6 separate regions of the Homo sapiens genome follow, and regions 1, 2, 4, 5 and 6 are each linked to region 3. Evidence: promoter capture Hi-C in 16 types of primary human blood cells and fetal thymus (Javierre and others, 2016). All regions are on one chromosome and are shown on one strand. The core of a region is centred on a gene start or on the middle of the fragment in contact, and the rest is flanking DNA. Distances in the headings are between cores, read along the strand shown.

Evidence for each region. The method cuts DNA at HindIII sites, captures the fragments that hold promoters and counts their contacts. A CHiCAGO score of 5 or more calls a contact.
Region 1: the fragment with the promoter of ZNF324 here is called in contact with a fragment that was not itself captured in region 3 in 12 of 17 cell types (naive CD4 T cells, total B cells, total CD4 T cells and 9 more); the score reaches 13.9 in naive CD4 T cells.
Region 2: a contact is called between the fragment with the promoter of ZSCAN1 here and a fragment that was not itself captured in region 3, in 1 of 17 cell types (fetal thymus). The highest score is 5.2, in fetal thymus.
Region 4: the fragment with the promoter of ZNF835 here is called in contact with a fragment that was not itself captured in region 3 in 11 of 17 cell types (neutrophils, naive CD4 T cells, monocytes and 8 more); the score reaches 10.2 in neutrophils.
Region 5: the fragment with the promoter of ZNF497 here is called in contact with a fragment that was not itself captured in region 3 in 13 of 17 cell types (non-activated CD4 T cells, naive CD8 T cells, naive CD4 T cells and 10 more); the score reaches 15.3 in non-activated CD4 T cells.
Region 6: a contact is called between the fragment with the promoter of ZFP28 here and a fragment that was not itself captured in region 3, in 4 of 17 cell types (neutrophils, naive CD8 T cells, fetal thymus and 1 more). The highest score is 7.8, in neutrophils.

The regions. Positions count from the first base shown.
Region 1 is chr19:58,464,329-58,468,417 of GRCh38, forward strand. ZNF324 (zinc finger protein 324) reads left to right here and starts at 2,752. Exons shown (of 4, transcript NM_014347.3): 1 at 2,752-2,855. RefSeq lists enhancers at 2,483-3,099, 3,100-3,714 and silencers at 2,742-2,791, 2,872-3,001. The HindIII fragment of the contact is 6,014 bases long and covers 1-4,089 here.
Region 2 is chr19:58,031,881-58,035,373 of GRCh38, forward strand. ZSCAN1 (zinc finger and SCAN domain containing 1) reads left to right here and starts at 2,145. Exons shown (of 6, transcript NM_182572.4): 1 at 2,145-2,281. The HindIII fragment of the contact is 10,205 bases long and covers 1-3,493 here.
Region 3 is chr19:57,471,416-57,475,327 of GRCh38, forward strand. It overlaps ZNF772 (zinc finger protein 772), which reads right to left. Exons shown (of 4, transcript NM_001144068.2): 4 at 1-3,006. The coding sequence ends at 1,859. Among named protein-coding and RNA genes, the nearest start is that of ZNF772, 4.2 kb to the right of the region's middle. The HindIII fragment of the contact is 6,834 bases long and covers 1-3,912 here.
Region 4 is chr19:56,669,653-56,673,490 of GRCh38, forward strand. ZNF835 (zinc finger protein 835) reads right to left here and starts at 2,105. Exons shown (of 2, transcript NM_001005850.3): 1 at 1,924-2,105. LOC105372473 (a long non-coding RNA gene) reads left to right here and starts at 2,327. Exons shown (of 4, transcript XR_936110.4): 1 at 2,327-2,779. The HindIII fragment of the contact is 4,177 bases long and covers 1-2,199 here.
Region 5 is chr19:58,361,497-58,365,040 of GRCh38, forward strand. ZNF497 (zinc finger protein 497) reads right to left here and starts at 1,255. Exons shown (of 3, transcript NM_198458.3): 1 at 1,181-1,255. ZNF497-AS1 (ZNF497 antisense RNA 1) reads left to right here and starts at 1,130. Exons shown (of 3, transcript NR_136527.1): 1 at 1,130-1,256; 2 at 3,040-3,103. It also overlaps the pseudogene RNA5SP473. RefSeq lists enhancers at 542-1,090, 820-949. The HindIII fragment of the contact is 6,825 bases long and covers 1-3,544 here.
Region 6 is chr19:56,537,455-56,541,445 of GRCh38, forward strand. ZFP28 (ZFP28 zinc finger protein) reads left to right here and starts at 1,494. Exons shown (of 8, transcript NM_020828.2): 1 at 1,494-1,772; 2 at 2,171-2,262. The coding sequence starts at 1,565. ZFP28-DT (ZFP28 divergent transcript) reads right to left here and starts at 1,280. Exons shown (of 3, transcript NR_183967.1): 1 at 971-1,280; 2 at 197-283. The HindIII fragment of the contact is 11,931 bases long and covers 1-3,991 here.

The sequences.
Region 1 (4,089 bases), core at 1,502-4,001, 990 kb after region 3:
GGTGCAGTGGCTCACACTTATAATCCCAGCACTTTTGGAGGCCAAGGCAGGCGGATCACTTGAGGTCAGGAGTTCGAGACCAGCCCAACATGGCAAAACCTTGTCTCTACTAAAAATACAAAAATTAGGTGGGTGTGATGGCATGCACCTGTAATTCCAACTATTCGGGAGGCTGAGGCACGAGAATCTCTTGAACCCAGGAGGTAGAGATTGCAGTGAGCCAAGATTGTTTCACTGTGCTCCAGCCTGGGTGACAGAGTGAGATGCTGTCTCAAATAATTAAATTAAAAATTAAAAAATGAAACGTTTGAAGAGTTAAAATGCCTCCAAATATTCATACATTGCTTAAAATGGTAATAATGCCTCTAAGCATTTGATCAAATCACAACTTTAATACTACTTTTTTTTTTTTTTGAGACAGAGTCTTGCTCTGTCACCCAGGCTGGAATGCAGTGGTGTGATCTCGGCTCACTGCAAGCTCCACCTCCCAGGTTCATGCCATTCTCCTGCCTTAGCCTCCTGAGTAGCTGGGACTACAGGCGCCCGCCACCACACCCAGCTACTTTTATTTTTGTATTTTTTAGCAGAGACTGGGTTTCACCGTGTTAGCCAGGATGGTCTCGATCTCCTGACCTCAAGATCCGCCCACCTCGGCCTCCCAAAGTGCTGGGATTACCGGCGTGAGCCACAGCGCCCGGCCACAGCTTGAATAGTTCTAAGTGTTGGGGTTTTTTTTCTTCAGGGTTTTTGAACTTTAATACTTCCTTTTTTTTTTTTTTTTTTTTTTGAAACGGAGTCTCGCTCTGTCGCCCAGGCCGGACTGCGGACTGCAGTGGCGCAATCTCGGCTCACTGCAAGCTCCGCTTCCCGGGTTCACGCCATTCTCCCGCCTCAGCCTCCCCAGTAGCTGGGACTACAGGCGCCCGCCACCGCGCCCGGCTAATTTTTTGTATTTTTAGTAGAGATGGGGTTTCACCTTGTTAGCCAGGATGGTCTCGATCTCCTGACCTCATGATCCACCCGCCTCGGCCTCCCAAAGTGCTGGGATTACAGGCGTGAGCCACCGCGCCCGGCCCTGAACTTTAATACTTCTAAGTGTTGGGGTTTTTTTTTTCCCCCTCAGGGTTTTTGTTTGTTTTTTCCTGAGACAGGGTCTCTCTCTTACCCAGGCTGGAGTGCAGGGGCTCCATCATAGCTCACTGCACACTCCAACTCCTGAACTCAATCCTCCCACCTCAGCCTCCCATGTAGCTGGTATTACAGGCATGCAAGACCATGCTCAGCTAATTTTTATATTTTTTTATAAAGATGGGGTCACATTTTGTTGCTCAGGCTGGTCTCAAACTCCTAGGCTCCAGTGATCGCTCACCTTGGCCACCCAAAGTGCTCAGATTCCAGGTGTGAGCCACTGCGCCCAGTCCTGAAATGTTCTTAAATTCTTTCAAAGTAGCAAAATTTATATTAAAACATTCCAAACATGATGAGCTCCCTTGCTCTACAAGGATTTACAAGTAGAATCAATTAGGTGGACAGTTATAGCTGACAGTTGACAGAGAGATAGTTATAGATGGAGGTAGGTATAGAGGGAGGGAGGCAAAAAGAGTTAAGGAACTGGACAGCTGAGAACTGTCTACAGGTTCCAAAAACAAGACAAAGAACCTTTTATTATCTGCCAAACAAGACAGTCTACATTGAGACTGCTCTGCCTTTCGTTTTTATGTGTCAAAGACACTTAAATTGGCCTGTAATCCCAGCACTTTGGGAGAACGAGGTGGGCGGATCACCTGAGGTCAGGAGTTCAAGACCAGCCTGGCCAACATGGTGAAACTCCATCTCTACTAAAAAATACAAAAATTAGCCAGGCATGGTGGCGCACACCTGTGGTCCCAGCTACTACGGAGGCTGAGGCGGGGGGATCACTTGAACCTGAAGGCAGAGGTTGCAGTGAGCCGAGATTGTGCCACTGCACTCCAGCACGGGCAACAGAACAAAGACCCTGTTAAAAAAAAAAAAAAAAAACTTAAATGAGTCCCAAGAAAAAAGGAAAAAAGAATGAATATTGTGATGTGTGGGGCAAGACAAGATCTAGATGGTCTAAGGACAAGCAAATCTGGGGAATTAACTTCTGCCCATCCAAATTACAAGGAAAACAGATGCTTTGGGCAAGTGTCGAGGAACAGTCTCATACTTAAGACAAATGTAGGCTTACGGGCTGAGAATTCTTGGTGTAAAGGTTGAAAACGGACCTTAAACCTTTACGGGACATTGACACAGAGAGGTCAAACCCGCGCCCAGGACGCACAGTCAGTGAGAGGCAGAGCTGGGAAGGGAACCCGGAGCTCCAGGCATCGGCTCCTCCACCTCCACCTGCGCTACCCGGTGCATTTTCTCCTCCGTGCTCACTGCTGGTGTTGCCTCTTGGAACCTCGGCAGTTTCTGCTTTCGCACCTGCAGGGTTTAGTCTCCGGGACTGCTTGGGAGGACACCTGGAATGCCGAAGGCAGGACTACACACCGGGCGAATCCACCAGCGCCACCAAGCCCTTGAAAACCCGAGGCCGCCGCGCGACTCCATTTCCCAGCGCCCCGCGCGGCAGGGGCTTGGACGTTGCCAAGGAGACCGGTAGTGGCCCCGCCTCCACGCAGGGAAACAGGCGGGAACCACGTGACCCGGAAGGCTGTACGCAAGCGTCCGCGGCGCGCACTGGGCCAATGAGAACCGAAGGGCTGGACTTCCGGCGGTGGGACTGTCACTTCGCCGCCCGCGTCAGGCCACACCGGTGGTCTGGGCTGGGGACCGCGGGTCGGGTCCGGTTTCCAGGGGGTTCCTGGTGCTCGAGGCTGGCGGCGAGGAAGGTACTGGCTGAGGGCCCGCGTCGGGCCCGCCCTGCGCACGCGTCGTGATCAAGGGCGCCGGCCGCCGGCCGCGCCCCCAAGCCTCTGTTTCTCAGAGTGCGTCGTGGGCGTCCAGGGGACTGTCGGGCCGCGGCGGGAGCCATGCGCTCTCCCACCGTGCGGCAGCCCAGGAGGCTGCGCGCTGGGCGTTCCACGTCCATGATGGCCGGGGAGACTGAGGCGCGGGGCGGCCCCGGGACGCTGCTGGCGGGGAAAGGCTGGGTGGTCCACGCCTTTCTTCCCTCCCAGCTGCGGGTTCCGCTGGCGGCGGTGGCGCTGACAAGCCCGCGTCGGGGAAGCAGGGGAGTCCCTGCTCACACAGACCGCGCCCTCACGGAGGGAGGCCGCTTCCTAGACCTCGCCTAGTCGTCTTTCCTCTCCCTGCCCTGGGGGGGTTGCGGGGGTCAGTGCAAACTCCTGCGTCCAGGGCACTGGTGAGCTCCCGAGTTCGGGCAGCCAGGGGGCTGAGGTCCCGAAGGAGGCTCCGAGGGGAGAGTCCTGCGTGTGCAAAACCTGGGAGGGGAGCCGAAGCCCAGGTGCTTCTGGGACTGAGCTCTCTCGATGTGGAGCTGGAGTAGAGGGGATGTGTGCGGCTGCAGTATCAGGCGAGGGAGTGGGCTTTATCTCGAGGGCGTCGGGAGACATAGAAGTTTTGAACAGAATCAGGACATCCTCTGAGGACTTTAAAACGGTTCCACCGTTTGTTGCGTGGAGAACAGACATGCAGGGGTGTCGGCATGAAGGGAAGAACCGACTGCCACAGTCTGGGCAGCAGTGGAGGTGGGCGACCAGGTGAATTCTGGTGGATCTGCGGATGCATCAGGTGTGGGCTGTTTGAAGAACTAAGTACCCCATGTTGTTCAGCCTGAGCGCCTGGAAGAAGAGAGCTGCTGTAGATAGAAAGGAGAATTGAAAGGAAAGCAGGTTTCCTTCAGGGGAAAGATCAAGAGTCTGGGATGTCCCAGGTTGGTCATGTCACTGGACCTGACGTTGTTGGCGTCCTGGGCTGTGGACAGGGCCTATGAATTGGACTGAGGAATGGGCAGGGACTCAGCCAGGTGTGGGCAGTTATGGCTTGAGGGTAAAGAAGACCAGCTGGGATGCCTGGGGCTATTGGGAAGAGCCTAGCACCTAACTGAGGAGGGGAGGGTGGCAACAGAGAGGGGAAGAAAGGGGACACCGGGTGAAAGGAGGA
Region 2 (3,493 bases), core at 895-3,394, 560 kb after region 3:
ATCTCAGCTACTCTGGAGGCTTAGGCAGGAGAATCACTTGAACCCGAGAGGTGGAGGTTGCAGTGAGCCAAGATCACGCCTTTGCACTCCAGCCTGGGCAACAAGAGCAAGACTCTTTTTAAAAAAAACAAAACAAACAAACAAAAAAAAACTGAAACCTCTGCTAGACACCAGGCTGCCTCCCAATGGATCTAGAGTTACCAGGTGGCCTATGATGGTGTCTAGATCCAGACTCTAGAGACAGACTAAGTCAGTGTTCTCTCAAGGGAGATTTCCCAAATGGGTGGCAGTTATAAATGCACACATGAGCCTTCACTGCCCCAAAGGGCCACGCCAATTTCAGCTACCAAGAAAATGAACCATGTCATTACAAGTGCCTAATTTTCAAGAAGGAGAATAATAAGCCCTTAGCACCCTAATTTGGTTTTCCCATAGTGGTTTCTGCACAAAGTGGCATTCACACACAACATTCCAGGGACCAGCCGCCAGCAGCAAAGATGCGGAGACACGGCTCTGATTATCCAGCTGAGGCAGCCCCTCCCCTCCCTGCCACTCCTGGGACTCTTAATCTCCAGGCCTCGTTTTATTTTATTCTAGGTATTTATATTTCCATGAAGCATCTGCTTTGTTTACTGGTGTTTGCCCCATGAACATGGGCTTCCAAGGGACTAAAGCCCTATCAGTCCCTCTCACTGATGTGCTCCCACCCCAGTGTCCAGAACAGTGCCTGGTACACATAGGCCCTCAATAAACAGCTGTCCAGCAGATGCTGGACCCCCTGGAGGTGGGTCCTCCTCTCTTTTCTTAGCTCACACTCTCCTGCTTCTTCTTCAGCAATGAGCAGCTTCAGCTATCCTGAGCTCAGTCCCAGAGCTGAGGACCCTCCTTGCATCATGATCTCACCCCCACCTGATTTCAGATACAAAACGAGTATCTGTGGAACCCTACTATTCTGGCACATGGTTACATTGTAGACATTAATATTAAAACTTATTTATATGAAATGTTCTTATGTAAGGTTTCGTTAAAGTATATGAAATATAGGACACATTGATACTAATTCCTTGTTTTTCTTTTTCTTTCTTTCTTTTTTTTTTTTTTTTTTTTTTTTTGAGACAGAGTCTCACTCTGTTGCCCAGGCAAGGCTGGAGTGCGTTGGCAGGTCTCGGCTCACTGCAACCTCGGCTTCCCCAGTTCCAGCGATTCTCCTACCTCAGCCTCCCGAGTAGCTGGGATTACAGGCACGCACCACCATGCCTGGCTAATTTTTGTATTTTTAGTAGAGACGGGGTTTCACCATGTTGGCCAGGCTGGTCTGAAACACCCGACCTCAGGTGATCCGCCTGCCTCGGCCTCCCGAGTTCTGGGATTACAGGCGTGAGCTATCGCGCCCGGCCTCCTTGTTTTTCTTGAGTTTACATATAACTGAGGTTTCTTTTTTCTTTCTTTTTTTTGGGGGTGGGGGGACGGAGTCTCGCTCTGTCACCCACGCTGGAAAACTGGAGTGCAATGGAGCAATCTCGGCTCACTGCAACCTCCGCCTCCCCGGTTCCAGTGATTCTCCTGTCTCAGCCTCCTGAGAAACTGGGATTACAGGCATGCGCCACCACGCCCAGGTAATTTTTGTATTTTTAGTAGAGACGGGGGTTTCACCATATTGGTCAGGCTGGTCTCGAACTCATGACCTCGTGATCCGCCTGCCTTGGCCTCCCAAAGTGCTGGGATTACAGGCGTGTCACCGCGCCCGGCCGACGTCCTGTATTTTTATTTGCTAAGAGTGGCGATCCTAGTCTGGGACATACTTGTACTAAACATATTTATATTAAAAACAATGTTTTAACATACTACTCTTGGACACTGTATAAAACGGTTGCGTGTCTGGAATGCCGTCGTTTTGCCCCGCGGCCCCATCGTACATGCGCATCCCCGCAGCCGCCACCGTCTCCACTTTCCGCAGCAGCGTCCCTGACGCTGCGCGACCCGTTGCCAAGGCGACTGGAACCGCGGCCCGAGGTAACTGGAGGGCACGGCGGGGGCGGGGCGCTCATCCCAGGCGGCTTCTGATTGGCCTCGGCCGCCTCGTGCGTCACAGCCCCGCCCCTGCCCGGGAGTCCCGCAGCGGTGACTTGTCACCGACGCCCGGCGTGATCCAGCGGACCAATGGCGGCCGCCCGCGGCGCGCAGGGTGCGGGGATGGGGTCCGCCCGCGGCGTTGGGCGCGCTCGCCAGCCCAGGGGTCGCCATGACCGAGTGGCCCAGGCCCGAGCGAAGCCCGCGCGCGGTGAGTCCGCCGCGGCCCATCCGTCCCTCCGCCCGCCAGAGCGTCCATCGGGACGCCCACCCGGGAGGGTCTCGGCGCCGCGTCGGCGGGAGCTGGCCCGGGATCGCGGTCCAGGGGCGCGCGTCGGGGGAGGCGGGCCCGGGCCCGGGAGGGGGCGGGCCGGGCCGGGGTTCCAGAGCCCATCGGGAGTCCTGAGGTCGCCGTAGGGGAGGGAAGGGGAAGGCTAGAGGCCACGCGGGGCGGGGACTGGGGGGGCTGGGGCCGCCCCTTCCGCAGGGACCCCGACCCCTGTTGGCATCCGCCTGTCCGTTTGAGGCCGAAGCCCCTCTACGTACCCCCATTGCCCGCCCAAACACCGCTCGGCCGCGTCCAAGTTCTCCCTTCCACACCTGATCAGCATCCCGGGACCTATCTCCCTCCTGAACAGCCGCCCCCGGACCCATCTCCCTCCCTACCCGGCCCCTTGGGCCCATCCCCCACTGGAACAGCAGCCCCCGACCCGTCTCTCTCCCTACAAGCTCCCCCTCCCCGCCCCAGGCCCATCTCCCTCCTGAACAGCCGCCCCCGACCCATCCCCCACCCAATCACCCCACCATCCTCCCCCCAACCAGCCGTCCACAGCCGTCGTCGCTGCCCCTCCCCTGTATTCCCAGTGCGCTGCCCTTGCACACTTCCCCAGCTCGTTTATTATGGAACTCCTCCGTGTGGCATCCTAAGCTCCCAACGCCCTCCCCACTGTAAGCCCCCTTCTCAAAGCCAGAACCATTCACTGACTGGCGCAGTGAACACGTCTTCTATGTCACTAAGCATCCGGCATCAGCGGCAAAGCCCTTCTGCCCATCCCCGCAATAGAATTTGGGGCTCGGGCTGCAGATCTCAGTGCCCATGCCAGGTGAACCTGGCCCTTCCACAGGCACTGAGCCCTCCAAGTGACACTCTCTCACACACACACATCCCCAACATTAATCAGAGACCCCTACCAAAGTAGACTTCTAGGACCCCAGGGCCACCACAGCATTGCCCATGGGGGGGCCCAGATCCTCCTCACCAGCCATGTAGACCTCAGTCCCCTTCACATCATCCCAGGCCCTCTTCATCTTCCAGAAACAGCCACCCATCAGTCCAGGACTCTCATCAGCTCAGGTACCCCCACATTGGCCTAGGTGTTCCACATCAGCCCCCATATAGACCCCAGACACACCCATGGACCTC
Region 3 (3,912 bases), core at 1,139-3,638:
CAGAAATGCAAGGTTGGCTTAACATTTAAAAAAATCAGTCAATGTAATTCATATTAAACAACTAAAACAGAAAAAGAAAAAAACCATATAGGATTATGGTCACCAGAGTCCAAGAAAACGCCCCACAAATCCCTATTTTCACCTTTGTGTAGTTCTCTTCCACTTTTAACCAGGATTAGCTAGGGTTACTTATGAAATATAGCAGAAATGACGGCTCATCACTTTCAGTTTAAGGTAATGACAGATACTGTGGCTTTGTTCTTGTGTGAGTTCTCTCCTGGATCACTTGCTTTGAAACTATTTCTCTACAATGGAACACTCTTAGCAAAGTACAAATGAAAAGAAATGAACTATGAAACACAGAACACCACCATGAGCCTTAATTTCAGAGTTTAAGAAGCCAAAAACATTAGAATACATATTAAATTACTCTATCTCTGTAGAATTCTAGGAAATACAAACAAATCTACAGTGACAACGGATCAATAGTTGCCTGGGGATGGGTGAAGGAAAGGGAGAAAATATAAAAGGAATCAGGAAACTTTTGGTTTGAGAAGTGCCAACATGTATCAAAACTTATCAAATGGTACACTATAAATATGTGCAGTTTATTGCAAAAATGTTTAGACTGACTTCTGGACAGTAACCTTAGCCATAAGAGACACAGGTATGGAAATATTTCTGTAAACCCTCATAATGGAGCCAGAGTAATGGAAACACATGTGGATGTACCTTTAGAAGGGTCATATTCCCTATAGTTTGCTGCAGTTTTCTCATTCCTTTATTAATCTGGGTTTCTGCACCAACTATGATTCCTACCTGGGCCTTCTGGAGGACAGCCAATATCAACTGCCTACTGAAAAATAGACTTCAGAGATCTTGACATGTCCACTGAGTTCAAATTCTCCTCAAGAAGCCTTGGGAATATGAAGTATCTTCTGGGAACAAGGGACGTAATTCATGTTGCTCCCAGACACATTAGAGATTATCACAACAAATGCCCACTGCTTAGGGTGACCTCAATTACACAAAAAATCTTAACATATAGACCAAAAGATTAGGCCTACAAAGACTGGCATTCTTTCCTAGGAGAGCTGAAGCAGTCAAGTAAGTTAGCTTGACACTAGCATAAGAGCTAGTCTTTGCCATCCTACTATCACTTCAGAGATACAGATAGTTGGAGCTCTCACAAAAGCTGTTCTTCCCTTCATACTGGCTTAGCTCAATTCTGTTCTCAACCCAACCCACAAAGCGAACAGAATCCTCAAGATTTCAGATAGTCTAAAAATTAAGGCATTTGTTGCAAAACCAGAATATGAGGCAGCCAATTTCAGGTCAGGTGTCTTGAAGGCTAGAAAAATTCGTCCCAAGTGCCATGTGAGATCAACTATATCCATGAAGGGAAACCTCTGCCAGTGGTCAGCAGAACAAAGCTCCCATTTTTCTGGCTAAAACTGGGTCATGCTCATGCTTAAACCAGTAGTGGGGCAGAAAAAAAGTGAGAATCCTTGATGGCCTCAGGCTACTGATGATTCCCTCCAGGGAAGGGAATAGTACAGAGGTCTGTCTTTTGAAACACATTGGGGTTACTTTGGCACAAGGCAGGACTCTTCCAGCACAAAGACAGATGGCTTCTAACAGGCACTGCCTTGACGAAATTCCAGCAAGAGTCTAGAAAATTCAGCATAGCTCCAGAAGGCTTCCCATATAGCTGGCACTCGGAAGAACCTCCCCAGGGTGAGTGTTTGAGTGTATAAAGTTCTACTTCTGGCTGTCGGCTACACATAAAGGCTATGCTTGGAGCTTCTCTCTGATGTCAGTTATTATGTTGAACAAGGAAACGGAATTATCTCCCATCCTAAGGCCTTTCTCCAGTGTGAATTTTCCAGTGGCGGATGAGGGAAGCCCTCTGCCTGAAGGCCTTCCCACATTCACTGCACTTATATGGCCTTTCTCCAGTGTGAATTCTATGATGCTGAACAAGTACATGTTTGTGGCTAAAGGCTTTTCCACATTCACTGCACACATAAGGCTTTTCACCATTATGAACTCTTTGATGTGCAATAAGGTCAGAGCTTTGGCTAAAGAACTTCCCACATGCGATGCACTCATAAGGCCTTGCTCCAGTATGAACACTCCAATGTTTAATGAGTCTGTATTTGTGACCAAAGTATTTTCCACATTCGCTGCACTCATATGGCCTTTCTCCAGTATGGATACTCTCATGCTGAACAAGTGTAGATTTGTGACTATAGGCTTTCCCACATTCACTGCACTTGTAAGGCCTTGCTCCAGTGTGTACTCTTTGATGTACAATAAGGTTAGAGCTATGATTAAAAACTTTCCCACATATGCCACACTCATAAGGCATTTCTCCAGTGTGGATTCTCTGGTGCTGAGCAAGTATGGGTTTGCGGCTAAAGGTTTTCCCACATTCACCGCACTCATAAGGCCTTTCTCCAGTGTGGACTCTCTGGTGTTGAACAAGTGAGTCTTTGCGGCTGAAGGTTTTCCCACATTCACTGCATTTGTAATGCCTTTTTCCACAGTGAGAGGCCTCCTCACACTTGGTGTTGCTGTGTGGCTTCCACTCATTGTGAGGGGCATGGTGCTCGAAAATGCTTGAGCTGGCTAGGAAGTCCTTACAAGCCTCCCCTGTCACAAAAGACATCTCCATTGATTGCACAGCACAGTTGTTCAGAAGAAAGGGCCTGCTCTTATCACTTCTAAAGGGTTTCTCTCCACTGTGCTGCTTCTGGTGCTGGTGAAGGTTTGCACTGAAGCAGAACTGTTTCCCACACAGCACACACATGTATGGTTTCTGCCCTGGGTGTGTTTCCTGGTGCTCAGCCAAGTGCAAAATGTCTTTTAAGACCAGGCCACATGTCCCACAGGGGTAAGCCTTCTGAGTAGAAGGACCTCCCTTGGGAATCCTGATCTGTGACATTCCTATAGAAAAGCTCTGCTCAAAAGGTATCTCTTCATCCTCCATTCCATGCCAACAACCTGAAAGCAGAGAAATGCTGGTGAAGTACAAATTGACACAGGTGGAAGAGGGGAAGCCTCACTACAAATATGTGTCTAACACAACTAAGACCAAGGTCATAGGACTGTTGTTAGGACAAGGGTCCAAACTCAAGTTCAGCAAATGTGTACTATACGGTAGTTGGCATCTAAATGTCATAGAATGGAGAAGGCCTCAACTGGGAGAGGACAAAGATGTGGGGTACAGCACAAAAAAGAGGCAGGTCTCAAAGTCATTCACAATCAGATTTTCTTGGCTGCTGGGGACAGGTGAGAGTTGTGCAGAAGGTTATGGTCCATACCAAAGAAAATCAAATTGCTACTCAGTAGTTGGTGTTTAAGGACTATTTGGGCTACACATCTCATGAAACACTAAGTACAGGCCAATGCTGGAAGGCACTGTAGAACAAGCCATGGAGAGGAACAGGTGAGACATGAAGGCAGAGGTATGGAACATCCAGAGGCCAAAGGCCAGAGTATGAAAGGCCAGTGGCCTTAGCACTAATACAACTGTAGGCACAAAGAGGCTATGGAATGATATGAACCCAGCCCTGACATCACACCTTTCCCCAGCTCCTACTCACCAGGGTCACTCCCACCTGGAGTCTCTGTGGCAACAGCTAGGGTCATGTCCACCCAGTCAGGTACCCAGGGCTCACTACCCATCACCAGTGAGGCAACTATGTGGGACATGAAAGATGTATGTCCTAAGGGAAAGATAGAACAGCACTGGTCTGGGTAACCCATATAGAAAACTAAATATTATTAAAATAATCTCAGAGTAAGGTCTTGCAGGAATAGTGCAGTGGTCCTAGCAAGTAGCGACCATAATGGTCCCTACAATTCCTGACATAGGCAGGCCACAGGAAATGTCAGCTAAAGGAAGAG
Region 4 (3,838 bases), core at 855-3,354, 800 kb before region 3:
ACTTGGGGGCCTATCAGGAGTCCTCCATTAGCATAAATGTACTTGGGGGCCTATCAGGAGTCCTCCATTAGCATAAATGTACTTGGGGGTCTACCAGGAGTCCTCCATTAGCATAAATGTACTTGGGGGCCTATCAGGAGTCCTCCATTAGCATAAATGTACTTGGGGGCCTATCAGGAGTCCTCCATTAGCATAAATGTACTTGGGGGCCTACCAGGAGTCCTCCATTAGCATAAATGTACTTGGGGGCCTATCAGGAGTCCTCCATTAGCATAAATGTACTTGGGGGCCTATCAGGAGTCCTCCATTAGCATAAATGTACTTGGGGGCCTATCAGGAGTCCTCCATTAGCATAAATGTACTTGGGGGCCTACCAGGAGTCCTCCATTAGCATAAATGTACTTGGGGGCCTATCAGGAGTCCTCCATTAGCATAAATGTACTTGGGGGCCTATCAGGAGTCCTCCATTAGCATAAATGTACTTGGGGGCCTATCAGGAGTCCTCCATTAGCATAAACACAGGTGTGGTTGCAGGGGGCTTATTAAGAGTTGCAGAAGACACTCCTTCTACCCCTGTCACTCAGGAAATTCCAAGGGTTTTAGGGGCTCTGGTACCAGGAGCTGGGGATAAAGATTAAACATATATTTCTTATTATATCACAAGATCACAGGAAGACACATGCATTACATCACACTCTGACACACACAGGGTCATACACAATCATACCTGCCCAGACACACACAGACATGCAGAGACACCCAAACCCATATCCAGGGACACACAGTCGCCCTCCTAACCCCCATGCAAGGAGGCAGGTGGGAAGCCATCACCTGCAGCCACACTCACACATGCACACAGGGTCCCGGGCACACGTAGCTACACACACACCCAGCCCCACACGTAGCTCCCTGTGTGAAGAGGTGCACAGAGACGCACAAGGTCACACATGCCACCTGCTCCACACAGGCCGGCCATTACTGGGACACACCCACAGGGGATGGCTGGACACATGTGCAGTCACACTCGGTGGATAGAGCTCCAGCATAGCCAAAGCCCACATGTGCAGCGTCTCCATCATGTGCAGATGCACACACTTCAGACAGCACGGCACTCTACAGGCTCGCACAGCCAGGTCACCCATCATTGTGCTGGCAGGCACACGGGCCGAGCCAGCCTACACGGCGGCACACCCAGACATGCACACGTGGGGTCACACACCTCACATCCAGGAGAACTTTCAGACTTGCCCAAAGGCAGCCACACGTGTATGTGACATGCTGTGATATGCAGACACCGCTTCACATGAACGAGCACATAACACACCGATAAAGTGTTACATGCCTTTACCTGCAGTCACCTGCCTGGGCTGGCACCACTGAGTGAGCAGGTGCAGACACAGTGACACTCGGGGACGGGCTCACAGGCAGTCACACACCTGCAAGGCCTGGCACCGCCGAGTGAGCAGGTACAGACACAGTGATGGGCTGGCACCGCCAAGTGAGCAGGGGCAGACGCTGTGACACTCAGGGACGGGCTCACAGGCAGTCACACACCTGCACCTGCTGGTACCGTCGAGTGAGCAGGTGCAGACGCTGTGACACTCAGGGACAGGCTCACAGCCAGTCACACACCTGCACGGCCTGGCACCGCCAAGTGAGCAGGTACAGACACAGTGACGGGCTGGCACCGCCGAGTAAGCAGGTGCAGATGCAGTGACAGGCTCACAGGCAGTCACACACCTGCACCTGCTGGTACCGTCGAGTGACCAGGTGCAGACGCTGTGTTACTCAGGGACGGGCTCACAGGCAGTCACACACCTATACGGGCTGACACCGCTAAGTGAACAGGTGCAGACACAATGGCACTCGGGGACGGGCTCACACGCGGTCACACACCTGCAGGAACACGCGCACACTACACACCGTTGCTCTCGCCTCCCGGTATCACCTTCGAACGCGCTGGCCGGCCCCCTCCTAGCCTGGTGCAGTCGGCTCCGCTTCTACTCAGTCTCGGGTCCTCCTGGGCCAACGCAGACCCTGGTGCCTCCTTCCTTAGACGAGCTAAGGTCAAGACTTCTGCTGCTGCGGAGGAGCCCGCGCACCAGGCCGGGGTGGACTGCGCCTGCGCATCGGGCCCGCCTGGTTCTTAGGAACTACGACTCCCAGGGGGCGCTGCGCGCTCGCCGGCACCGCGACTAAAGCTTGCAAAGCCTGGGTCATCGAAACTACAACTCCCAGAAGGCTAAGCGTCTGCACACGCTAGGTCCGCAGGGCGCTGACCCCTGGGGGCCCGAGGAGCGCCGGGCTGCTGCCCCGAGCCCCGCCCACTACAGCCTCAGTGCATGGCGGTGGGCGCTTCCAGTAACTCAGGGGTGGGACTTTTTTCTTGCTCAGGGGATGAGGCCGAGCCCACAGGCTTAGAAAGAAGGAACTTGAGTCCGGGCACCTGTCATCCCAGCGCTTAGGGAGGCCGAGGCGGGTGGATCACCTGAGGTCAGGAGTTCGAGACCAGCCTGGCCAATATGGCGAAACCCCCGTCTCTACTAAAAATACAAAAATTAGCCGAGCATGGTGGCATGCACTTCCAGCTACTTGGAAGGCTGAGGCGGGAGAATGGCTTGAACCTGGGAGGCGAGGGTTGCAGTGAGCTGAGATCGCACCACTGCACTCCAGCCTGGGTGACAGAGCGAGACTTCGTCTCAAAAAAAAAGAAGAAGAAAGAAGGAAGCTGAGGTTCAGACAGGCTAAGTCCCTACTGCAGGCTGCGGAATCTAAAAAGGTAGGTGCCAGGGTTTGCAACCCACACTTTTATTTTGGTCTCAGGTAGCTGATGTCATTCCAGTCTATGGCAAAGAAGGTGGCAAATCCATTAACATAGATGAAGAATTTCATTTTACTTTTTAGTTTTATTTATTTATTTATTTTTATTATGTATCATGCTTTTAATACAAACTTTAAAAAATCTGGAACAATAGAAACTGTACAGATTTGATCAATCTTTTTGTTTTGTTTTTAAACTAAAATCTCTAAACACACCAATGTCCTATTCCAAAATATTGCACAACATTCTGAATACAAAACCCTTGATTGTATTCCTCCTTCACTGAAGAAAAAACTTCATGACCCTGCTCCCCGGGCTCCTCTCCAGGCTTGCGTCAATGCCCCCTTCCCATCCCTAGGGAGAAAACTAGAGAATCTATAACTCACTGCATTGAGAAAAAGACATCATTCTGGACTAACAGTTTCCATTCTTCAGAAGATAATCCACCTTTTGATTTGTTCCTGGGAAACAGGGATAGATAGAGGATGGGGAAAGGGGAGAAAAGGTTTTATTTCTCCTCTTTTTTTTTTAAAGTTTGTTTTTCCTGAAAAAATATGTTTCTCTCATCTTTTTAAGAAAAAATCTTGAAAAGAAAAAAATTGTTTTTACGTTAGAAATATACATATATTATATATACCTCTTACATTTTACAAATGTAGCAAATTATTCAATACAAACGGACACCAAAAAATGTAAAAAATAAAAAAAAGTTTTCCTAAGAACCAGGTAAATTAGTGCAGATTTCTGTTTTTGTTTTCTTAAAAAAAATAAAATTGAAGCAAAAGTGCCTAGATTTGAGACAAGACAGACTGAACTGGGCCCAAGAGCCCAGCACTGGAGTCATGCTCCTGAACACACATTTTTCTTCGTATTTCAAAAGACACAAAGGGGTTGGTCTCCCCCCCTCTCCCTACATGTGAGAAACAAGCAGACCTGGTGTGGGTGGGTGCCTGTGTGTGTGGATGGGAGGAGGGATAGAAGGGGATGTAAGGCAGCATCCAACCTTTCCCAGAGAGA
Region 5 (3,544 bases), core at 5-2,504, 890 kb after region 3:
CAGGCACCAGCCTCCACACCCGCCTAATTTTTGTGTTTTCAGTACAGATGGGGTTTCACCATGTTGCTCAGGCTGGTCTTTAACTCCTGAGCTCAAGGGATCCACCCGCCTTGGCCTCCCAAAGTGCTGGGATTACAGACATGAGCCACCGCACCTGGCCTCTAGTTTTTCAAGATGCCACCTTTAGGGGAATTGGGTAAAGCGTACATAGGGTATGCATTACTTGTTACTGCATGTGAATTTATAATTACCTCAAATCAAAAGTTAAATTTTAAAAAAACGACATCTGATTTCAATAAAAATCCATATTTGTGTATTGAAGTATCAGAAATCCGGGTCCCCCAAGGGCCCATGTTTCTTAAGGCGGAGCCAGGCACCGCTGCCCCTCCATCCTGTGGTGTGCGACCCCGACCCGCCAGCCCCCAGCCGCATCTATCAGGGCTGCCGTCCTGAGTCCGTCCTCGTCGTGGGATAGCATGTGAGCCCCGTAAGGTCCTTCCTGTCGGCCTCACTGCTCCAGCCTCCCCGACGTCCTCACGTCCACGCTGCGTGCCCTTTCTGAGCCTCAACGCCTCCTCCTCACCTCGACATGATCAGAGCCACCTCCCGCGTCAGTCCCAGCGCCCACGCCCCCAACAACGGGCACTTGTCCGACCAGTCACGGGTACTTGTGTCTCCCCCACAACCCCCAAGGCCTAGGCTGGACAAACAAATACGGAGTGGATAAAGGGGAGGAAGCTGCGGCCAGGTGGCGCGAGGCCTGTGCGGGCAGCTCCGGAGGCTGGGAGGCGAGCCCAGCCTGGTGAGCTCCGAAACTACCCGGGGCTGGGGACTGATGAACGAATAAATGAATGTGGGAAGAAATGATGGCGCGGCAGGGCATGAGTGAATGAGTGAAAGAATAAACGAGCAGGAGGAACGATGCCACAGAACTGATCGCCATAAGGCTCGCGTTCACCGAGAGAACAGCAAACGGGAGCCATTTCCGTCCCGACCACGGTCGCCTCTGGCCCGTGCAGGGCCACTTCCGGGCCGCTCTGGACGGCGCGGAGGCCTATCTCTCGGTGGTCCCAGAGGGCCCAGCTCAGGGCCGAGGCCCGTCCTGCCCCGCGCGGCGGGAGTGGTTGGAGCCGGAGGGCGGATCTGTGCCTGGCCGAGGGTGTCCGTCGGCGTCACTCACCGTCCTCGGCCCGCCTCTGCGTCCACTAGGAGCGGCCTGAAAGAGGCCCGCACGCGGGCTCGAGCCGCGTGGAATGGTAGGAGGGCGGGCACCGGGTCTCCTGGGGGCGCGGTTGCATTCGGCAGAGCGGCCCAAGGCGTCGCGTTTCTCCCCACTGCGCCTGCGTAACTATGCCGCGGCTGCGGGCGCGCGCCTTCTGGTTCCCATGGGGACGGCGCCACAGCCAAGCTACTCGGGCGTCCTGCGTTGCCATGGATGCGCTCCGCCCCTTCCTGCACCCGGCCAGCCTCTGCGGCACACACCCAACAGCTACACAGGCGCCTGGGGCTGCCCGGGTCGCGGACGCAAGTCGGGCCAACGTAGCTTCTCCCTGGCGGTCCTCCTCCGGCCCCAGGCCGTCTTTACCACCCTGGAACCTTGCTGAGTTGACGCCACTGAGCTGCGTCTCACACCCACGCGCTGTGGAACACCCACCAAGCTGGAATCCACGCGGTTTTTAAAATAGAGTCGGGGGCCGGGCGCGGTGACTCACGCCTGTAATCCCAGCACTTTGGGAGGTCGAGGCGGGCGGATCACGAGGTCAGGAGATCGAGACCATCCTGGCTAACACGGAGAAACCCCGTCTCTACTAAAAATACAAAAAATTAGCCGGGCGTGGTGGCGGGCGCCTGTAGTCCCAGCTACTCGGGAGGCTGAGGCAGGAGAATCGCTTGAACCTGGGAGGCGGAGCTTGCAGTGAGCCGAGATCGCGACACTGCACTCCAGCCTGGGGCGACAGAACGAGACTCCGTCTCAAAAAAAAAAAAAAAAAATTGAGTCGGGATCTCAGAAGCTAAGCAGGGTCGGGCCTGGTTAGTACTTGGGAGACCGTCTGGGAACACCGAGTGCTGTTGGCTAAAATAAATAAATAAACCGGGCGCGGTGGCTCACGCCTGTAATCCCAGAACTTTGGGAGGCCGAGGCGGGCAGATCACGAGGTCAGGAGTTCGAGACCAGCCTGACCAACATGGTGAAACCCCGTCTCTACTGAAAATACAAAAATTAGGCTTGTTGGCGTGTGCCTATAATCCCAGCTACTCGGGAGGCTGAGGCAGGAGAATCGCTTGAACCGGGGAGGCAGAAGTTACAGTGAGCTGAGGTCGTGCCACTGCACACTCCAGCCTGGGTGACAGAGCAAGACTCCGTCTCAAAAAACAACATAGACCAGATGCTGTAAGCTAAAATAAATGAATAGCTAGAGACGGGGTCTCGCTATATGGCCCAGGCTGGTCTTGAACTTCTGGGCTCAAGTGATCCTCCCACCTTGGCCTCCCAAAGTGCTAGGATTACAGACCCGAGCCACTGCACCCGGCCTCCACGAGCTCTTTTTGTACCAATTTTTCCCAATTTGTACTAGGGAGCTCTCACCTCAGCCCAGGTGGTTTGGGCAGGTGTGGGTACATGGCCCAGGTCCACAGCACAGGGCAGTCCATCCCTCTGGCCCTGGCAGTGGTCACTTTGGACCTGTGAGCATCGTGGGACTTCTCTCTGAACTGTTAGGGCCTCTATCTGCTTTGAACCTGAGGCTGTGAGCATCTGTCAGCTGGGGCAGCTGCAGCCTTCTTGCCCCGCTGAAGGATGAATCTGTTAAGAGAATGGAGTCCATACAGAAAAGCAGAACTGAGGGATGGTGTGTTAGTTTCCTGTGGTTATGCAGCAAATTACCACAAATTTGGTGGCTTAAAACAGCAGAAATATATTCCCGCCCAGTTCTGGGGACCAGAAGTCTAACATCGATATGACTGAGCTGAAACAAGATGTTGACAGGGCTGAGCTCCCTCTGGAAGCTCTAACGTAGAACCTTTCCTTGCCTTTTTCAGCACCTAGAGCTGCATTCCATGTATTCCTTGGCTTTTCGTCCTTTCCTCCATCATCAAGTAACTGGTAACATCTTACTATTTCTCTCATTAAGTTAAAATATTTAACATATGTTCATTTTATCTTATTTGCATGAGAGTCAATTTTAGCTTTAAAAAAATTTTTATTGGCCGGGTGGGGTGGCTCAGGCCTGTAATCCCAGCAATTTGGGAGGTGGAGGTGGGCGGATCACCTGAGGTCAGGAGTTCGAGACCAGCCTGACCAACATGGTGAAACCCCGTCTTTACTAAAAATACAAAAATTAGCCGTGTGTGGTACATACCTGTAATCCCAGCTACTTGGGAGACTGAGGCAGGAGAATCGCATGAACCTGGGAGGCAGAGGTTGCAGTGAGCTGAGATCATGCCACTGCACTCCAACCTGGGCAACAGAGCGAGACTCCGTCTCAAGAAAAAAAAAAGGGGGGGAGGCCTGGGCGCAGTGGCTCACGCCTGTAATCCCAACACT
Region 6 (3,991 bases), core at 244-2,743, 930 kb before region 3:
GAGACTGGGGAGGTGAGTATTATAAGCTGGGCAGATGGCCACTTGAAGAGCATCAATGTTCTGCTGTGGAAGGAGTGCAAAATAGACACCAGAGAGACCATTAGCAGTGTCTGCCACAGCTATTACATGGCTAGGTCCACCTGACTGAAACTAAGCCTTTTCTATGAGACTGAAGTGCTTTGAGAGAAATGCTGACCTTGTCCTTTCTGCAGCTTGCGGCTTTCAGTCACCCTTGGATTCAGAGATAGAAGTCATCTTAATTCCATCACTGAGGCCAGGAGACCTGAAAGAAATCAATTCAAGAGTAAGGAGACCAGGCGTGCAGTGTGACTGGGCGTGCAGAGGTCAGTGCATCTGTGATGACTGGTGTAACAGCATCACTGCCTGTGAGCCAGCAAGGCCCTTGGCTCCCAGGATGAAGCTCTCCAGTTCTGATAAGGCCCCTGGGGGAGAGACCGGTCCTAAACATGTTCAAGAATAAATCCATCAGCTAACTTCAGACCGTGATTCACACAGGAAGGGAACTTTAAGAGGTCGCCAGGGCTGGTATTTTTGAGACGTTAGGCAGCCCTCTCTGAGGCGATGACAAGTGAATGGCATAAAGGAGCCAGCCCAGACGAAAATTTGGGGTTAGACTATTTCGACCCAGGACGTGCAAATACATAGGTTACAAAATGGAAAATGGTATTTTGGAGGATGGGAGGCCCGTGTAGCCAGAGATAATGGGAGAAGGTGAGGGGGCACCCAAAACAATCCCACAAGCTCTCTACATCCCCCTTCCTAGCCCACACACATCACCCATCAGAGTGATCCTCCGGACTCCGGAGGCCCCCAAGATTGCCTTTCCCTTCCCGGTCGGCAGTGACGCTCCCGCAAGGAGCTGACGCCCAGGCCCTTAGCACCTGTCACAGCCAAGCACCCTTTTACTCCGGCCCTGCGGTCCCACCCCTCGCCGCAAGCCCCGCCTCACCCGGTCTGCCGCTGCGCCTGCGCGACTCCCAGAAGCCTTTGGGGGGTGGGTGTGTAGTCAGAGCGGCCTCTGCTTCCGGCCACACCCAGGCCCAGCGTTGGCCACCACTTATGCGGCGGCTGCGGTCCAGGGACAAGTGAGAGCGACCCGCAGAGGGCAGGACGGACGGGCGTTGCATAGGCCCGGGGCCAAACCGTATCTTGCAACCTGAGCTCCGAGGGCCGCCGCATCCGTCCCTGCTTGGGACTACGCTTCCCAGCGGGCATTGCGCCGAGGCCACGCCCGGTTCCGGCGGCGCTGCCTGCGCACTGGAAGTGGGAAGCGCCGGGCTTCTCTAGGCTGAGGGGCGGGGCGGGGCGGGGCGGGGCGGGGCGGGGCGGGGCGGGGCGGGGCGGGGCGGGGCGGGGCAGCGGGGAGGGGTGGGGAGGGGCGGGGCGCGGCCGGGGGCGGGGCGGCTCCGCGGCGCGGCCCAGTGGATGCCGGGCCATGGGGGAGCGCGCGCGGGGCTGTTCGCTGGGCGTGGCGGGCGGGTGTGGCCAGGGGTGTGGGTCTGTGAGGGACCGGTCGGAAGGGCGTCGCGCGGCCTCGGGTGACATGCGGGGGGCGGCGAGCGCGAGTGTCCGCGAGCCGACGCCGCTCCCGGGTAGAGGCGCCCCCCGCACAAAGCCCCGGGCGGGCCGAGGCCCGACTGTAGGGACTCCAGCCACCTTGGCCCTCCCTGCCCGGGGAAGGCCGCGCTCAAGGAATGGCCTCGCATCCAAAGGCCAGCGAGGAGCGGCCCCTACGGGGCCTGGGCACAGAGGTGAGAGTGACAGGTGTTTGGGGCCGAGCGGACAGGGACGAATTCATCTCGGGATGAGATCTGGGAGGGGGTTGGGCTCTCGGGGACCAGTTGCTGGAGAACTGTGCCCCTGGTCTTTGAAGCTGGTGGAGTGGGAGAATCTGAAGATTTGGAAGCTCAACTGATTCAGAGCAGCAAGCCGCGGTAAAAGGGTGTTGACTTTCCCAGGGTGACTCTAACTAGACGCTTTTCCTGTTTTCGTGCTCCCAGGGAGGAAAAAAACCTATCTCCACGTTGTGGCAGTCCCTAGGCAGGGTAATGATCTGATCCCACCTTTTCATGCAGGAAGGGACGTTTCTAGGCTGGTGATTTGGGACTGTGGTGTAGACCTGGTCTCTAGCTACTCCTTTCTCTTTCAGCTCTGCCTTCCAGGGACACTGCTCTTCCCCAGGAGAGAAACAAGAAGCTGGAGGCTGTGGGGACAGGAATTGAACCTAAAGCCATGTCCCAGGTGAGTTGGCATTTCATCTCTTGTCTCTGAAATGCAGTCTTGCTTTTCGGGACTTAATGTTGCTTATTTTCTTGAAAGTTTTCAGTTTAAGAGACCTGTTTGGGCGCGGGTTTCTATTTCTTCACGTTCTAGTGAAGTGATGGGCTACGGGGAAAAGTTTAAACTGCCCGGGGCCTCGATGCCTGCTTCTTCTTCATCCCAATCAGCCTTCATTCTTGATTGATGAAATGATTCAGCCTCTCCCTTGTACCGCTTTTCTCAGAGGGACTCTGATGGAGGAATTGTGCCCCTTGAGGAACACGGCAGACTCTTCTGCTATACATGGTTTGTTTGGTGACCACTTTGTGCCAGCCACTGAGCAAACCAATAGCTAAGCCCTAGTCCCTGCTCTGGAGCTCACAGCCTGTTGACCCAATGTCAAGGAAACAAGCAAGATTCTAGAATGTGATCATCCTTGGGCCAAGTATTATGAGCGAGGACTACAAGGCGCTCCTGGCTTCCAGCCTCCTGTAGCGGAAGGGTAGGCCTATTTACCAAGGAGGTGATTTTTGAGCCTTGCCTTGAAGGGAGAGAAGATGTTTGGGAGGCACAGTAAAGAAAGACAACATTTTAGGGAGAGGAGGCGCAATATGAAAGGCTTTTCCACTTGATTTTGTGGCTTTAAAACATGCCAGTAAATAGTTGTGTTTGTTTCGGTTGGCTTCTCCTATAAATATCATAGCTAGCTCATTAATAGATGAACCATTTCACTTCCACTGAGGCCTCAAAAAATATATGTACAGATGAACCAGCTTCCAGTTGTCCTACCCAAACTGCTCTTGAGTGGGTTACTGTGATCTTCACATTACCAGATGCAGTGCTCAATTCTTAGTCTTTTTTGACTATCATTGGTATTTGAAATAGCTCAGAGGCTGGCAAACTTGTGCTGGATGAGGCCACAGCAGAAAATATGTTAGGCTTTGAAAGTCCTGCTGCATCTACTCCTTTCTGCTCTTATAGAGCTAAAGTAGCCAAAGACAATATGTAAATGAATGGATGGGCTGTGTTCCAGTAAAACTTCAGTTACAAAACAGGTGGCTACCTATCCCTCAAATAGCTCATCCCTGTCCTTCAATAGGCCCCCTTTTTTCCCTTGGCTACTGGGATCTCACACTCATCTGACTTTCATCTTCCTGACTGCTCAGTTTTTGCCACAGTTCTTACCTCCGTGACTTGAACAGAGTGTGCCTCAGCACTCTGCTCATGGCCCTTTCTTTTTTTGTCTGCATGCTGTCTCCTGGGGATAGTAGCCTGTTCCTTGTCTGTACAACCTACCCACATGGTGGCTCCTCCCAGATTCACATTGTGAGCCCAAACCTCTCCTCTGAGCCGCCGGCCTGTGTATCCTGCTCCACTCCTCTGCCTGAGTGTCTGATGGGTAACTCAAGACAGCCTGTCCAGACCCGAAGTCCTGAGAGTCTCCCATAAACCAGCTCCTCCCACAGTTTGAGTCTTAGTCAGTGGCCGTTTCATCCTCTCAGTTACTCAGTCCGGAAGCCTTGTCATGATTGGCTCATTTCTTGCCTTTTCCTTCCATATTTGGTCCTGATGCAAATCCTGTCAGTTCTATTTGCAAATTATGTGCAGAATCTGGCAGTTTTCATCACATCTATCACCAGCAGCAGGTCCAAGTCCTCCTTTTACTGTGGGCTTCTTGACTGTGCTTCTGTGACCTCCTGCTTCTGCTCAC